2 separate regions of the Homo sapiens genome follow, and region 2 is linked to region 1. The links are contacts of gene promoters, found by promoter capture Hi-C in blood cells and fetal thymus (Javierre and others, 2016). All regions are on one chromosome and are shown on one strand. Each heading gives the region's core, a stretch centred on a gene start or on the middle of the fragment in contact. The rest is flanking DNA. Distances are from core to core; before and after follow the strand shown.

Evidence for each region. The method cuts DNA at HindIII sites, captures the fragments that hold promoters and counts their contacts. A CHiCAGO score of 5 or more calls a contact.
Region 2: a fragment that was not itself captured here is called in contact with the fragment with the promoter of VPS35 in region 1 in 14 of 17 cell types (megakaryocytes, M1 macrophages, M2 macrophages and 11 more); the score reaches 14.5 in megakaryocytes.

What each region holds. Positions count from the first base shown.
Region 1 is chr16:46,687,602-46,690,705 of GRCh38, reverse strand. It overlaps VPS35 (VPS35 retromer complex component), which reads left to right and starts at 1,528. Exons shown (of 17, transcript NM_018206.6): 1 at 1,528-1,575. The coding sequence starts at 1,573. ORC6 (origin recognition complex subunit 6) reads right to left here and starts at 1,047. Exons shown (of 7, transcript NM_014321.4): 1 at 936-1,047. The coding sequence starts at 1,000. RefSeq lists enhancers at 224-293, 344-423, 661-1,359, 1,360-2,057 and silencers at 764-1,063, 1,384-1,623, 1,774-1,823. The HindIII fragment of the contact is 9,040 bases long and covers 1-3,104 here.
Region 2 is chr16:46,808,093-46,811,196 of GRCh38, reverse strand. C16orf87 (chromosome 16 open reading frame 87) reads left to right here. Exons shown (of 4, transcript NM_001001436.4): 3 at 1,412-1,594. Among named protein-coding and RNA genes, the nearest start is that of C16orf87, 22 kb to the left of the region's middle. The HindIII fragment of the contact is 5,700 bases long and covers 1-3,104 here.

The sequences.
Region 1 (3,104 bases), core at 279-2,778:
AGAGACAGGCAGGTTAGACCAGGGTTCCTCCTTTCCTCCTATTTCCTTTAAATCAGTAGTTCTTAAACTTGATGGTAGGCGAAAATCACCTTGGGGACTTGCAAATTACTGGGTCCCAGGCCGAGTTACTGATCAGCAGGCTTGAGGTGGGACCCAAGAATTTGTATTTCTAACAAGTGACAAGATGATATGGCTGTTGCTGGTCCAGGAACCACATTTTGAGAACCACTGTTCTAAATGACTACCGAGTCCTGCAGGTTTGTCTTCAAATCTTTTAAGTGCTGTTTTCCTTGCCTTCCCTCGCCTGACTGCTCCACGTTTTAGCTACAATGGCTTTATTTCGAACCCCGGATCCCGCTTCCCATCTCAACGCTTTTACAGGAGCTGTCGCCCCTGCCTGGGCTGCTCTTGCCATATCTTTCCTCGCCTAGCATCTGCCATCAATCCGGCCTCAGCGGGAACGGCGCCTGCTTTTCCGAGTTTTGTTTGTTTCTTTGTGTTAAAGGCAGCCGCTAGGCCGCGCTCCACCCCAAGCCCAGTGGCTCAGGAGCATTGCCCGGTTAAGGTCTACACAGTCCTCGCCCTTACAGACAGCGGGGTCTGCGCCTCGTTGTCGGGTTCCCCGCTATAAACCCGACTGCAGTAGGCGTTGGCGGAATGAACGGAAAGTTCTCCCTGGCTCATTTTTCTACCCACGGACAGGGCTGGCTGTTCCCAGGGACGTGTGCCATCGCCGTTTGCTATCGCCCTTCTTGCCATCTCATTCAAGCTCACGGCCGAGAAGTTTTTCTTGAAGTAGGCCCTAAACCCCGCCCGGCCCCAGCGCTCCCCGTCACTCCCCCGCCGCCCGTCGCCTGGGAAGGGCGCGGGCCTCACCTGAGGGCCCAGGGCCGCGAGGCGGAAGCCCAGCCCTGGTCTTGCGCGGCCGAACTCACCTCAGCATGTCGGGCTCGGCGAGGCCCAGGCGCGGGGCTAGGCGCCCGATCAGCTCCGACCCCATGGCGCCGGCACTAAAGCGAACAATTCCCGTGAACGCCGCGGGTCAACGAAACCCGCGCGCAAAGGCTGCACCGGCCAGTGAGAGCCAGGCCCCACCCCCGGCGCATCTGGATTGGTTAGGACAGGACGTTGAGACCGTCCCACAAACCAATCAGGGTCTTCCTTTTGCGCATGCGCATCAATAGCGCAATCGCCAACGCAGATGCGGTGAACGTGGACTTGTCGGCTCCCCCTCCTTCCATTCCTTCTTGACAAACTCATCACACACTGCCTTTCCCTCCTGTTGTCTCCTGCCTGCCGCCGGGCGATCCCCACTGCCCTGCACTGCTCCGCCCACTCTCGCACGCTGTGGTGAGATTGGCTGGCGCTCAGGTCCGTCCATCTAGCGTTAAGTGACAGGGCCAATAAGCACGCGAGACTCGGGTTCCTAGAAGTAGGCCAATCAATGAGCCGCCTGTAGGGCCCGGGGGCGGGGCTAGAGAGGGCGGGGCTTGGAGGGGCCGCAGCGTCACATGACCGCGGGAGGCTACGCGCGGGGCGGGTGCTGCTTGCTGCAGGCTCTGGGGAGTCGCCATGGTGAGTGCTGAGGGGGCAGTGGCACCTGGGTCGACCCTCCTTGTAGCCCCTGCTCTCTCCCACCGCCCCGCACTCCAGCGAGTGGAGAAGGGGCCCCACAGACCGTTCGGGATTAAGACCAGCCCGATTTGGCCTGCGGGATAGGGGACAGCAGGAGGAAGGCCGCGGGCAGGCTGATCCGGGCCGGGGTGGGCGGCGGCTCTTGGCTGCGGCCGTTGCTGAGAGACGGGGCGGCCTCTCTGTGGGGTTGACTTGGCATGTAGGCTTTGGGGTCCATGAAGGCCTGCGGCCTCCTTTAAGTGGAATCGGTCACCTGCCTACCACGAGGGGACCGGTAGTCCTAGGTCTGAGCGTCTGGCCCCCGGGGCGCGTGGAGGCCCTGAGACTCGGAGGTGGCGCCGGGACCCGCCCAGATGTTGCGTTTCTACCTTTGTGCCTAGTTGTGCTCGGCCGTCCCCACGCCCTCCTGGAGGGGTCGCAGTGATTCCTTGGCCTTTCTTGGCCTCATACCCGCCTTCGGCTGCAGTGTTTGTCAGCGAGTTCTGGGGACCTGCTTACATGAATTTCCTGGAAGGACTCAGGCTGTCTTCTAATCCTGACGGTCGCAAAGGAGACTGATTGTTTACTTTAGCATTTGTGCATTGGGCGCACCTTGCCTCTTTTGTCTCGCCATTGATAAAATCCAAGTATTTGACTTGCTGGAAGCAGTACTTCTCCTTAGGGCCCGTCTATGACGGCAGCAAATCGTGGTGTGGCTGTTGGCCGGTAAACTTGAACTTCCTCAAAATGTGAATCTTTGTGTCTGGTTCCCACAAAGGCAAGTTGTCACTTGCATTTTATTAGCGTTTAACATAGCCTGCACTGTGTAAATAAATTTTTTGAGTATATACTGTATGTCCGCTTTAATTACCTTACTCACTCTGTGTAGATAGGCTTCTGTAAATCTGTAAGCCTGGAAACAGATTTCACTTTAAATGTCTTAATGCCAGAAAGGATTAAGTGTTTTACAAATACTATTTTCATATAACGTGTTGCCGTACAAGGTGATTTTGCCTGTTTCTCAGGATTTTTATAATTGGGAATTGATACAAGACCGGCGCAAAATTTAACTTTAGGATTTGTGTGTTTCCAGCGTTTATGGATTGACATTTATATTGTTTTGTAATGGAAAACACTTAATTGAGGATGTATTACACACTCCGATTCTTTGTTGGGTGAACCAGTTGGGAGCAATCAGCCAGACACACAGTCTTGTCCTCATGAATTTTATTGGGAAAGGAAACTTGAGTATTCGTTCTTTCACAGTCACTGTCTATAATTTAGGCAGCTCGCTTAGTCTTCTTGGTGTCGCACTTTTGCATCCGAAAGCAAGTGTTGGCGGCCCCTTTGGCCCTTCCCAGCCCTAAAATTCCAGAATCCACTTCAATTCATCAAACATCTTGTGTGCCTTCAGTGTCACGGACTGTGGCCCTGGGTACCAATGTCGAACTTAAGAGGCTACTGGGGGAGACACGCTTGTAGAACTTAAC
Region 2 (3,104 bases), core at 179-2,678, 120 kb before region 1:
TACCTGCTGATGTTTAGTGCTTAGAACCTTTAGTTCATTGCAGGTTGAAAAATGTTGATACTCTGATTCTGTCATTCCTTCTTCATTTATTAGCTTTAATATGAGAAACCTCTTCATTTGCCCTTTGGTTACCCCGTGAGTAGCACAGTTTAAATAGAAAAAGCAGAAGAAATGCTTTGTTCTTGCCCTATATTTAAGTTTTCAAAGTAATGAGTTGGTTCTTTAGTATCTTCGTATGGTGGCCAAGTAGTTTTTGTTTTTAATGTTAATGTACTCATATGCTTGATATATTTCAATCTGTTACAGTTACTATTTTTATTGATGCTCAAATTGTCCTGTAATAGTGGGAGCCTCTTCATGTTAGCCCAAGTCTTAACAACACCCTGCTTGTCTTTGATAACTTTCTTGCAATCTGGGATAATTAAATATTCTTGTATTATCTGGTATATGTCTAATTTGAAACTTCAGATTAATTCTCCAAGGATATGGTGTTTGGGGATAATATTACTATTTTACTTTTAATTTTTTTACAGCAGTCTATTAAGCATACTTATTTTATAGTCTTTCACATTGTTCCCTTTAGTTCTTTGGATATGAATTTTTCTGTTTGTTTTGCCCCTTTACCACTGAGATTTTTGGCATTTGGGGAATTCTCTTTCTTGCTTTTGAGTGCAGGTATGTGTTAAAGCAAGGTATCATCTTTTTTGTTTTTGTTTTGTTTTTTTCTTTAAGTTTATTGTTTGTCTTATCCAACATTTTGATTTGTTTAGAGTGGGAGGGGTGGCTTCTTGCACTAATTAAATCACCATATTTAGTAAAGTTTCCCTATTGCTATTCCATTTATGGAACAACATGCTCTTATATCAGAAATTACCTTATCTGTGGCTAAAGTGAAAATTACTCACTTGCCTAGGGTTTTTATATTTGTTATGGATGCTTTCTGTTTGATTTTTATTGTAACCTTAATACGTTATCTCTAAGATCAGTTTTGCTTTTGCATATTTCACATATTTTAATCTTTAACTCAGGTAGAGGGCAAAAGGGCATGCAGTTTTTTTCCTTTCTTAATATTTCACTATTTTTAGCTTGGAAACAGGAAGAAAAAGGCAGAAAGGTTGCTATGGAATTGTGTGAACTTGTAGAGGCTGAAATTTAAGCTGCCAAATGAAGAAACTTGTTTTCTCTTCCAAGATTCCTCCTACTTCATGTGTTATTGTGATCTGAATTCTATTGAATTTCTTTTTTTCTTATGAGGGTGTGGGGGAGACATATATGTTATGGTTGTAGTTCTATGAAATATGCCAGGAAGCATACTCTAGTGCTATTTAGAAAGAAAAAGGAAGACAATGAGAACTTGGGCAAACAGTTCTTGCTAAGCCCTAAAATATATCACTTTTATTCATCCATACAGAAAACAAGCATGAGGCCAAGAGGAGGCGAACAGAGAGAGTTAGGAGAGAGAAGATAAATTCTACAGTAAATAAAGATTTAGAAAACAGAAAGAGGTCTCGAAGTAACAGCCATTCAGATCATATCAGACGAGGAAGAGGAAGACCTAAAAGTGCATCTGCCAAAAAACATGAGGAAGAAAGAGGTATGAACAAATCAAGCAGTTTTTTTTTCAAGTATTAAATTGATCTGGGATCTTAATTAGGTAGTAGTGAAGAAAGTGGAGGCATTGAGCTCCTGGACTTAAAAATCACAACTCATATTTTAGTTTGAAAGCATTTCCTCTGTGGTAGATGCTTATTATTTTTTTAATCACAGGAATTTAATTCTTATTGGAAACCTGAAGGCTTAGTTAGGTAAAATTTACCTTGCTATAAACTGATGATAATAGAGTTCAAAGATAATTTGTATATGACATCCTGAAGAAGCCTGTTAAAATGATTGTACTTTTTTTTTTTTTTGAGACAGCGTGTTGTTCTGTCACCCAGGCTGGAGTGCAGTGGCGCGGTCATGGCTCACTGCAGCCTTAAACTCCAGGGCTCCGGTGATTCTCCCCTGAGCCTCCTGAGTAGCTGGGACTACAGGTGTGCACCATCATGCCTAGCTAATTTTTTGTAGAGGGGGGTTTCACCATGTTGCCCAGGCTAGTCTTGAACTTCTGGGCTCAAGCAATCTGCCCTCCTTGGCCTCCCAAAGTGTTGGGACCTCTTTTTTTTTTTTTTTTTTTTGTCTTTTAAAGACATGTCTGAGTTCTGTTAAGACTACTTCAAACTATTATACTGTGAGTTTTAAAATTTTACTATTGAAAGTGTTGTTGGTGGAGTTTTTAATTGCTCATTGGGAGATTTGTGTGCTTCCTACTCTGAGGCAGCTTTTGCATAGATGAATTCTTCTTGGTCCAGAGTATATTTCTTTTTCTCCTTACAGGTCTTCTTTCTTCTGACGAATATCTACCAATAGCTTGTTTTTAGACATTAAAACTTCAGTTTCTCTTTTTCTTTGATTTATGCATCTTTTTAAAAACTTACAGAAAATTTCAACATATGCAAGAGTAGAGAAAATAGTATAATGAACCTCTCTATGTCCACAAATACCTTTTTAAAATTGAGACTTTCAAGCTGGTAGTTAATTTAAAAAAGGGATAGTTGCTCTTTATTGTTCTTTAAAAACCTCTGTCAAAATGATTTCATCTTCACTGAAATGCATTTTTAATTTCTTACACTATTTGTGAGTTATGCTTTGCTTTTCAGACGTTCTGTCTTAGATACTCAAGTGCTTTTTGTATAAATGTAAATTTCACTTATTTTAGACAATAAGACCATTCTACCAGTTTGCTATTTCTCTCTGCTTTATGTGCTTTTATTTGAATAAAGTTACTATTGCTAGAAAACAGCTTCACCAGTATAGCCATTCCTAGCTTTTATCAAAGTTAAAGGTGTCTTAGTATTGTATGGCTAAAGGAGTAAGGTTTATATCGGTTTTGACTGTATTCTAGGAAGGCTGTACTAAGGTACTCCATATTCCTTGGGTAATTTTACTGCTTTTCTCTTTCTATTATGCTCTTCCAGAGGGTTTGAGTTATTTGTTAAATTTGTATGTTTCTTTAACAATAGGGTGCAGAAAACCTATGCCGAGGACTCCTATTTTAGAAGGGA